Linked DNA regions of Homo sapiens: all the other regions are linked to region 2. The links are contacts of gene promoters, found by promoter capture Hi-C in blood cells and fetal thymus (Javierre and others, 2016). All regions are on one chromosome and are shown on one strand. The core of a region is centred on a gene start or on the middle of the fragment in contact, and the rest is flanking DNA. Distances in the headings are between cores, read along the strand shown. Region 1 overlaps HYCC2 (hyccin PI4KA lipid kinase complex subunit 2). Region 2 holds the start of CFLAR-AS1 (CFLAR antisense RNA 1). Region 3 overlaps HYCC2 (hyccin PI4KA lipid kinase complex subunit 2).

What was found. The method cuts DNA at HindIII sites, captures the fragments that hold promoters and counts their contacts. A CHiCAGO score of 5 or more calls a contact.
Region 1: a contact is called between a fragment that was not itself captured here and the fragment with the promoter of CFLAR-AS1 in region 2, in 12 of 17 cell types (neutrophils, erythroblasts, megakaryocytes and 9 more). The highest score is 17.3, in neutrophils.
Region 3: a contact is called between a fragment that was not itself captured here and the fragment with the promoter of CFLAR-AS1 in region 2, in 8 of 17 cell types (neutrophils, erythroblasts, activated CD4 T cells and 5 more). The highest score is 18.0, in neutrophils.

What each region holds. Positions count from the first base shown.
Region 1 is chr2:201,063,833-201,067,479 of GRCh38, forward strand. The region is part of intron 1 of HYCC2 (hyccin PI4KA lipid kinase complex subunit 2); the gene reads right to left. It also overlaps the pseudogene HNRNPA1P35 and the pseudogene RPL23AP30. Among named protein-coding and RNA genes, the nearest start is that of HYCC2, 6.0 kb to the right of the region's middle. The HindIII fragment of the contact is 2,230 bases long and covers 873-3,102 here.
Region 2 is chr2:201,155,785-201,159,301 of GRCh38, forward strand. It overlaps CFLAR-AS1 (CFLAR antisense RNA 1), which reads right to left and starts at 2,008. Exons shown (of 7, transcript NR_040030.1): 1 at 1,971-2,008. The region is part of intron 8 of CFLAR (CASP8 and FADD like apoptosis regulator); the gene reads left to right. RefSeq lists enhancers at 2,307-2,386, 2,407-2,736. The HindIII fragment of the contact is 4,248 bases long and covers 294-3,517 here.
Region 3 is chr2:201,040,540-201,044,042 of GRCh38, forward strand. The region is part of intron 2 of HYCC2 (hyccin PI4KA lipid kinase complex subunit 2); the gene reads right to left. Among named protein-coding and RNA genes, the nearest start is that of HYCC2, 29 kb to the right of the region's middle. RefSeq lists enhancers at 2,129-2,640, 2,641-3,153. The HindIII fragment of the contact is 7,101 bases long and covers 1-3,503 here.

The DNA.
Region 1 (3,647 bases), core at 738-3,237, 92 kb before region 2:
AATGATGGAAGCCATTTTGGAGGTGGTGGAAGCTACAATGATTTTGGCAATTACAAAAATCAGTCTTCAAATTTTGGACCCGTGAAGGGAGGAAATTTTGGAGGCAGAAGCTCTGGCCCCTATGGCGGTGGAGGCCAATACTTTGCAAAACCACGAAACTAAGGTGGCTATGGCGGTTCCAGCAGTAGCAGTAGCTATGGCAGTGGCAGAAGATTTTAATTAGGAAACAAAGCTTAGCAGGAGAGGAGAGCCAGAGAAGTGACAGGGAAGCTACAGGTTACAACAGATTTGTGAACTCAGCCAAGCACAGTGGTGGCAGGGCCTAGCTGCTACAAAGAAGACATGTTTTAGACAAATACTCATGTGTATGGGCAAAAAACTCGAGGACTGTATTTGTGACTAATTGTATAACAGGTTATTTTAGTTTCTGTTCTGTGGAAAGTGTAAAGCATTCCAACAAAGGGTTTTAATGTAGATTTTTTTTTTTGCACCCATGCTGTTGATTGCTAAATGTAATAGTCTGATCGTGACGCTGAATAAATGTCTTTTTTTTTAATGTGCTGTGTAAAGTTAGTCTACTCTGAAGCCATCTTGGTAAATTTCCCCAACAGTGTGAAGTTAGAATTCCTTCAGGGTGATGCCAGGTTCTATTTGGAATTTATATACAACCTGCTTGGGTGGAGAAGCTATTGTCTTCGGAAACCTTGGTGTAGTTGAACTGATAGTTACTGTTGTGACCTGAAGTTCACCATTAAAAGGGATTACCCAAGCAAAATCATGGAATTATTGGTTATAAAAGTGATTGTTGGCACATCCTATGCAATATATCTAAATTGAATAATGGTACCAGATAAAATTATAGATGGGAATGAAGCTTGTGTATCATCCATTATCATGTGTAATCAATAAACGATTTAATTCTCTGGAAAAAAATCTTCTGTGTATCTGCTCATTTAATCCTAACAATTCTTCTTAAAAACTTTTAATTTTGAAATTATAGACTCACAGGAAGTTGCAAAAAAAACTGCCAACAGGTCTCATGTACCCTTTGCCCATTTTCCCTCAATGGGAACACCTTGAATAACTACAGTAAAATATCAAGACCAGGAAATTGACATTGCTACAGTCTACAAAGTTTACTCAGATCTAACCAGTTTTACAAGCACTCATGTATACGTGTGTGTATAGCTCTATGCAATTTTATCACATAGGTAGACTCATGTAATTACCATCACAATCAAGATACAGAACTGTTCTGTCACCAAGACACTCTTGTAGTCCCACCCACTCCCCTCTCCTTGATACCTAAACCATGGCAACCACGAATCTGTTCTCTATCTCTTTATTTTTAGTATTTCAAGAATGTTATATAAATGGAATCATGGAATATGCAATTTTGAGATTTTTTTCACTTGAGACCCATTCAAGTTGTTACATTTTATTAACAGTCCATTCCTTTTTATTGCTGCATAGCAGTCCATGATATAGATGCACTATAGTCTATTTAACCTGTTGAAGAACATTTAGGTTTCCAGTTTTTGGCTATTAGGAATAAAGATGCTATGAGAATTCACACAGGTTTTTATATGAATGTAAGTTTCAGTTTCTCTGGAACAAATGCCCAAGACTGCAATTGTTGGCTTGTATAACTCTATTTCTAAAGATAAGGACACTGAGATGTAAATAGCGGAGCTAGGATTCTAATCTAGATAGTTGCCTCTAGGCCCTAATTCTTCATAATATTTCTAGCAGCTACAGAAATTGAGAGAAGTAAATGGAATCAAAGAAAGAGTAAGAAGGTAAAGTCAACAGAACCTAGCATTGCTCAGATGAAGCGTAAGGGTTAAAGATAGATAACATCAGGGTTCCAGCTCCAGCAGGTTAGAAAGATGACAAAAGGGAAAACATGAATTCACTTTTAAACATATTATAGTTGAAGGACCTGTAGCTCATCTTCATCTAGCAGGCAATTACATGTATAGAATAGGAACTAAAGTTAAAGGGAAAGCTCTGGATTAGAGACACAGATTGAGAACCATCATATTTGGATGCTAATTAAATAAAAAAATCACAGAGTAACAAAGCATAAAATGAGAGAAGATTCAGAACCTTAAGGAACAGAAACATTTGAGTCTTAAGTTTTATATTCATTTCCCCTAGTATTTTCCATAAATAGCAGATACTGTAAAATACTGCAAATTCAAATTAACTTTAGATTTTATAAAAGCCCTTCATGTTTTCTTTTCTTTTTTTTTTTTCTTTGGAGACAGAGTCTCACTTCATCGCCCAGGCTGGAGTGCACACAATCTTGGCTCACTGCAACCTCCACTTCCTAGGTTCAAGCAATTTTCCTGCCTCAGCCATTCCAGTAGCTAGCACTACAGGTGTGCACCACCGTGCCCAGCTAACTTTTGTATTTTTAGTAGAGACAGGGTTTCACCATGTTGGCCAGGCTGGTCTCGAAATCCTGACCTCAAGTGATCTGCTCACCTCGGCCTCCCGAGATGCTGGGATTACAGGCGTGAGCCACTGTGCCCAGCCACTATGTTTTCTATTTGAGTCTTACAGTCACCCTATAATGTAGAAAGGACAGTAGTATACTCTCTCCCATCCCCACACCTTTTTTCATTTAAAAAGTATAAACTAATAAATAAATAAAGAACGAATACACAGATTAAAAAGCCCCAATACAAAAGAATATGGAAAAATTATAACTTTCAGTACCTGCTCAGTATCTAACTTGCCTCTCTCATCCATTTTATATATAATATGGAAAGGAATTTAAGGAGGTTAATTGGCAAGTCTTAGTAGCTAACAAGTCTATATTAATTAAGAATCAGGGAGACTGTTTTCACAAGATAGTGCCGAAGGCGAAAAAGGAAGCTCCTACCCATCTTAAAGCAGAAGCCAAAGCAAAGGCTTTGAAGGCCAAGAAAGCAGTGCTGAAAGGCTGAAAGTAGTCATAAAATATGGTAAGTGGCATCAAACACATACACAAAAAAAGAAGATCCGCAAGTCACCCACGTCCCGGTGGCCCAAGGCACTGCAGCCCCATAGGCAGCCCAAATATCCTTGTAAGATAGCAGGATACAAGGAGAAAGAAGCTTGACCACTATACCATCATCAAGTTCCTGCTGACCAGAGTTCACCATGAAGAAGATAGAAGACAACATATTTGTGTTCATTGTGGATGTTAAAGCCAACAAGCACCAGGTCAAATAGGCTACAAAGAAGCTCCATAACATTGATGAGCCAAGATCAAGACCCTGATCAGACCTGATGAAGAGAAGAAGGCTTATGTTTGACTGGCTCCTGATTATGATGCTTTGGAGGTTGTCAACAAAATTGGGATCATCTAAACTGAGTTCGGCTGGCTAATTCTAAGTATATATATTAGTATCTTCTCACCAGAAAAAAAAAAAGAATCAAGCACTATCAACAGTTAAGTATTCAAAATGACAAAGGTGATGGATAAATTTGATTCTAACACTGTTTGAAGTTTCATGTGTCAAAATAGGACAAAACAGATATTCTGTAAACCATGCTTTGCCATTCAATAAATTGATGCCACTTACCATATTTTATGACCACTTTTTTGGCAGTTATATTTCAAACCTAGAAAGTACTATAATTCTATAAATAATCAA
Region 2 (3,517 bases), core at 758-3,257:
ATCTAATTTTTAAAATATTCTGTAGAGACAGGGTCTCACTATGTTGCCCAGGCTGGTCTCAAACTTCTGGGCTGAAGCAATCCTCCCACTTCAGCCTCCTGAGTGGCTGGGACTACAGGCACATGCTATCATGTCTGGCTAACTTTGTTTTTTATAGAGACAGGGTCTTTTGCTGTATTTCCCAGGGCGGTCTTGAACTCCTGGCTTCAAGTGATCTTCCTGCCTTGGCCTCCCAAAGCACTGGGATTATGGCCATGAGCCACCACGTAATCTTTGTTTTATGCGTATTTATAAGCTTTGCTTCCCCAACAAGATTATAAGCTCTTTGATTGAAGTACATCATATATTTGATATGTATTCTCTTGTCCAAGTGTTTCTGTAGGCAATAAGGGGAACTTTGTAAAACAAGAGTTTTCCGGTCAAGTAAATTTGAGAAGCGCTGCCTAATCTCTTCCCCCTCAGAGATTTGCAATGCATATTGACCTATTAAAGGCTCTGAGAATTCTTCCTGCGAAGAAACCTATTTTAGCCTTGTCCACCTTGCATTTCCCAAACACGTTTGACCTCAGAACTCCCTTTTTCACTAAGAATGTTTTGCCCATCTTATGTTTTACCCATGTGCTCTATAGCAGTTAACACTGGGCTTATTAAAGGTACTCAATATGTGATTGTAAATTAACTGGTGAAGCATTCCCTCATTCTTGTTTATTTTATACATTTATTTAATGAAGCCCTTTTCATAGAAATTGTCAAGATAAATGTATCCTCATTTAGATCAAAACAAATTCTAAATTAATGAAGTCATGACATTTTACTGTATTTTGGTTTTTTTGGTTTATCTGTGAAGTCCTCAAACCTGTGAGTAGTGCTGACCCTAGCCTTGAATGAACAGCCCTGTACTAACTGCAAGGCCAGAAGAACCCCTGCCCTTCCCCTCCCCACCCCCCCACATCATTTCCAGAAGTTCTAAAGAACAGTTGAAATTTACGGAGATCAGACTGGGTTGAGTGTGGGATTTCCAGGGTGGGTTCTAGAAGGAGAAGTGGGTCTTCTGTAGTTTGTTGAAATTTTATTTTCCAAACCCAGCCCCCAAGTTTTTCTTCCTCTATTTATGTGCAAGGACAAAACAGTTACTGTCCTACCTACATAGGATATGGACTCTGTCTGCTCTGAGCCCATTTTAGTTTAGAATATAGAGACCTCCCTCCAGGTCCTAAGAGAGAGATTCCATGAGAGATGTGCAACACCATAAGGTTGGTGATTTGTACTTTGAAATGGCTGCCTTTATTTCCTTTAAAGTCAATATCTTATATTTGAATAAACACAGTTTGCAAAGCATCTTTACAGAAATCTCATTGGATCCTCACGGTCACCTTTTTTCTGAGACAGAGTCTCACTCTTTCACCCAGGCTGGAGTGCAGTGGAGCGATCTTGGCTCCTCCACTTCCTGGGCTCGAGTGATCCTCCTTCCTTAGCCTCCCAAGTAGCTGGGACCACAGATGCGTGCCACCATGCCCAGCCAATTTTTGTATTTTTGGTAGAGATGGGGTTTCGCCATGTTGCCCAGGCTGGTCTCAAACTCTGCAGCTCAAGCAATCCACCCGCCTTGGCCTCCCAAAGTGCTGGGATTACAGGTATGAGCCACTGTACCCTGCCCTCACAGTCACCTTTTGAAGAACCTCCTGCTCAAGAGATCCTCCTGCCTCAGCCTCCTGAGTAGCTGTGATGACTACAGGCTTGTACTACCATGCCTGGCTAGTTTTTTTATTTTTTGTAGAGACGGGGTTCCCTGTGATGCCCAGGGTGGTCTCAAACTCCTGAGCTCAAGCCATCCTCCCACCTCAGCCTCCCAAAGTGCTGGGATTGTAGGTGTGAGCCACTGCACCTGGCCAAGCATTAGTTTTAATCTTGTTTTATAGATGAATAAACTGGGGCTGACTCAAACTGACTCAAAGTCACACTGTCATTACCTTTTTGATCCTGTACGTTAGACTGGGCTGTATGCATGTTCTTGCTGGCGCAATAAAGTTGCAAGTGCCAGCTAACAGCCCTTCCCACTCCACCTCACCACCTCATAGAGGAAAATTGTGACGTTAATGGGAAATGTCAGCGGTAATGTCTTCAGGCTGGGCCTGTGGAGTGACTCCCTTGCCACAGGATATTTAAGCAATGCTGTGTCTTGTCTGAGGCTCAGACCTGCTATTCTTATTGGCACTTGGGACCTGCATGGTTTTTGGCTTCACCTCCAGCTTTAGCCATTTTTCTTCTGTTCTTTTAGGTAAGGATTTTCTGCCCCAGACCTCAGATTCCCATTTCCTTCCTAGCTTCTCTGCTGTTATAGCTCAGTCTCTTCCAAGACCATGCAAGATTCAGACCCTAGTAGGAGGAGATGGAGGAACTAGGACTTAAACCCACATCTTGTGATTCCAAGGCTGGTTCCTCTTTTGCCCTGCACCACACAGCTGTCTGCTCACAGTCATGTGACAGGGGCTTCCCCAGCCAGAACCTCCAGGGAGCACAAATAAAGGAAAGAGCTGGAAGGCACAGTACAGCATTTGTTCTGTCCAAGCCTTACATATCAGCATGGGCAGGGAGAATGTGGTGAAGTTTTCTTTCAAGGACTTTGTTTGATAAGGAAGGACATTTATCAGTGAAGAGAGGTTTTGAGGGAAGTGAACCAATCTTGAGATAAGTACACAAAAGAGCTTTGAGTCTGGTGTTTCCCTGTTTGCTTCTGCCCCCTGGAGGAGCAAATACTCCATGATTAGAGACGTGTGAGTCCTTTGGAATAGAATAGCAGTGATGGAACTGGAGTCCTAGTCCAGGTTCTCTCCTTGTTCAGCCTGGATTCAGCACTGGGTATCGAAACAAGCCTGCACCCTCAGAGGAGATGGCTAGGGGACAGTGCGTCCAGGCCTCTTCTACCACACAGAGTTTTCTTTTTTTTATAAAGGGTATACACATTTAAAATTTAATGATACTCCCAAATTGCTCTTCAAAAAGGCTGTGCAAAATTACAGTCCTGATAACAGCTACCCAGAGATCCTGTAACGGCATTTGCCCTCATCATTATTATTATTATTATTATTATTATTATTATTATTTGAATTTGAGACGGAGTTCTGCTCTGTTGCCCAGGCTGGAGTGCAGTGGCGCAATCTTGGCTCACTGCAACCTCTGCCTCCCGGGTTCAAGCAATTCTCCTGTCTCAGCCTCCCTAGTAGCTGGGATTACAGGTGAGCACCACCACGCCTGGCTAATTTTTGTATTTTTAGTAGAGACGGGGTTTCACCATATTGGCCAGACTGGTCTCGAACTCCTGACCTCAGGTGATCTGCCCGTCTCGGCCTCCCAAAGTGCTAGGATTACAGATGTGAGCCACTGGGGCTGGTTGCCCTCACTATTTAATGGGTTATTTGCAACCTGTGAATCATGTCTCCTATTTCCTTGTTAATGATGCTTATTGATTATAGACTTAGGAATATCAGCACCTCCTTTGTAGCTCTTCATTCTTACA
Region 3 (3,503 bases), core at 700-3,199, 120 kb before region 2:
GTGCAGTGGCAAAATCTCAGCTCACTGCAACCTCCACCTCCCAGATTCAAGCAATTCTGCCTCAGCCTCCGAGTAGCTGGGATCACAGGCATGCACCACCATATCCGGCTAATTTTTTTATTTTTAGTACAGATGGGGTTTCACCATGTTGGCCAGGCTGGTCTCGGACTCCTGACCTCAAGTGATCCACCTGCCTCAGCCTCCCAAAACGCTGTGATTACAGGCGTGAGCCACTGTGCCCAGCCTCATAATTGCTTCTGCATTCAATCTGTTGCAGAAAAACCTCACTGTATATTTATGACAGAATGACAGTGAAGATGGCAAATACTGTCTTTATATTAATATGAAAAATAGTTTTGACCTTATGGACCCCCTTAAAGGATCCTGAGGATCACATTTTGATCACAAACCCTGGAGCAAGGTTGCCTAAGGTTAAGGTCACTTACTAGCTATGTTTAAACCCTTGTACCCTCTTACTAGCTATACTCAAACCCGCTGTCCCTCATTTCAAAACTGGGAATAGCGGTACCTACTTCATATAGTTTTTGTATACTTAGAACAGTTCTTATCACAAGATAAACATTACATAAGTGTTTGCTATAAGCATTATATAATCTCCATGATACTATGTCCTATGAAGTAGCTTGTTATTCTCATCTAATAGATAAGAAAATTAAAGTGTAAATGGGTGTGTGACCTATACAAGGTAACACAGTTTAAGTGGCAGAACTCAGATTTGAATCTAATGCCATAATTTTGAAATCTATGATTGAAAAAGGCACTATGCAATCTGGTCCCTGTCTTATGGTTCATACTACTCTCCCCACAGCTTTCTATGTTCTGGCCATACTCTCCTTTGAGTTTCTCTACAGCTTTACGTGCACCTTAACTCCAGCACATCTGTGCAGGCTGTTCCAGCCTAGAATGCTGTCCTGCTCCTGCTACTTAAGTGGCTGGCTCCTTCTGATCTTGTAAGTCTCAGCAGCCTTTCTGAACCACTTTATGTAAATAGCAGCTCTTCTTCCATTCCCCAGTATTTTCCATTCCAACACAAGATTTATTTCCTGCCTAGAACTTCGGGGTTTGTAACTTCTTTATCAGACCTCATTACTTACTAATTGTCCATCTCCCCACTGGATTGTAAATTCCAAGAGAACAGGGTACATTTTTGCATTGCTCACTACTATGCATTCAAAGCTAACAAAGATACTATGATTTCTGGATGTAAGACGGGTACTTAAAAAACATATATATAGTCAATGAACCATACTGTTTATATGTCCTCAGACAACTCATTTAAACCCTTTGGGCTTCAGTTTCCTACAATGATTAGTTATTTTCCAACTCTAAAATCCTAAAAATATATTTTAGTACCTTCATTTGAAAAATAGAATAGTCTCTCTCCCCCTCCCCCTCCCCTTTGCACGGTCCTCCTCTCCCCTTTGCACAGTCTCCCTCTGATGCCGAGCCGAGGCTGGACTGTACTGCCGCCATCTCGGCTCACTGCAGCCTCCCTGCCTGATTCTCCTGCCTCAGACTGCCAAGTGCCTGGGATTGCAGGCACATGCCGCCACACCTGACTGGTTTTCGTATTTTTTGGTGGAGACAGGGTTTCGCCGTGTTGGCCGGGCTGGTCTCCAGCTCCTGACCGCGAGTGGTCTGCCAGCCTCGGCCTCCCGAGGTGCCGGGATTGCAGACGGAGTCTCGCTCACTCAATGCTCAATGTTGCCCAGGCTGGAGTGCAGTGGCGTGATCTCGGATCGCTACAACCTACACCTCCCAGCCGCCTGCCTTGGCCTCCCAAAGTGCTGAGATTGCAGCCTCTGCCCGGCCGCCACCCCATCTAGGAAGTGAGGAGCGTCTCTGCCCGGCCGCCCATCATCTGGGATGTGGGGAGCACCTCTGCCCCACCGCCCCGTCTGAGATGTGAAGAGTGCCTCTGCCCCGCCGCGACCCCGTCTGGGAACTGAGGAGTGTCTCTGCCCCGCCGCCACCCCGTCTGGGAGGTGAGGAGCGTCTCTGACCAGCCGCCCCGTCTGAGAAGTGAGGAGCCCATCCGCCCAGCAGCCGCCCCGTCTGGGGGAGCCCCTCCGCCTGGCAGCCGCCCCATCCGGGAAGTGAGGAGCGTCTCCGCCCGGCAGCCGCCCAGTCCGGGAGCTGGGGGGCAGCCCCCGCCCGGCCAGCCGCCCCGTCCGGGAGGTGGGGGGCAGCCCCCGCCCGCCGCCCCGTCTGGGAGGTGGGGGGCGCCTCTGCCCAGCCACCCAGTCTGGGAAGTGGGGAGCCCCTCTGCCCGGCCGCCACCCCGTCTGGGAGGTGGGGGGGCCCCTCTGCCCGGCCGCCCCGTCTGGGAAGTGAGGAGCCCCTCTGCCCGGCCGCCACCCCGTCTGGGAGGTGTACCCAACAGCTCATTGAGAATGGGCCATGATGACAATGGCGGTTTTGTGGAATAGAAAAGGGGGAAATGTGGGGAAAAGAGAGATCAGACTGTTATTGTGTCTGTGTAGAAAGAAGTAGACATAGGAGACTCCATTTCGTTCTGTACTAGGAAAAATTCTTCTGCCTTGGGATGCTGTTAATCTATAACCTTACCCCCAACCCCGTGCTCTCTGAAACATGAGCTGTGTCCACTAAGGGTTAAATGGATTAAGGGCGGTGCAAGTTGTGCTTTGTTAAACAGATGCTTGAAGGCAGAATACTCCTTAAGAGTCATCACCACTCCCTAATCTCAACTACCCAGGGACACAAACACTGCGGAAGGTGGCAGGGCCCTCTGCCTAGGAAAACCAGAGACCTTTGTTCACATGTTTATCTGCTGACCTTCCCTCCACTATTGTCCTATGACCCTGCCAAATCCTCCTCTCCGAGAAACACCCAAGAATGATCAATAAATACTAAAAAAAAAAAAAAAAAGAAAGAAAAATAGAATAGTACTGGTTACAGAGAAATTCTGTAAACATATATTTTCTTTTTTTCTTTTTTTTTTTTTTGAGACAGAGTCTCACTCTGTTGCCTAGGCTAGAGTGCAGTGGCGTGATCTCAGCTCACTGCAAGCTCCGTCTCCCAGGTTCACGCCATTCTCCTGCCTCAGCCTCCCGAGTACCTGGGACTACAGGCGCCTGCCACCATGCCTGGCTAATTTTTTGTATTTTTAGTAGAGACAGGGATTCACTGTGCTAGCCAGGATGGTCTCGATCTCCTGACCTCGTGATCCACCCGCCTCAGCCTCCCAAAGTGCTGGGATTACAGGTGTGAGCCACCGCGCCTGGCCAAACATGTATTTTCTAACCAGGCACAGCACTCTTAGTACATAGAGATATCTACAGAGCACAGCTACAAATAGACTGCAAGCTATCTTTTATTTTTTGAGATGGGGTCTCGCTATCTTGCCCCAGCTGGTCTTGAACTCCTGGGCTCAAACAATCCTCCCACCTCAGCCTCCTGAATAGCTGAGATTACAGCATACGCTACAGTGCCTGGACTTGCAACCTTTCTGTTTATCTAAC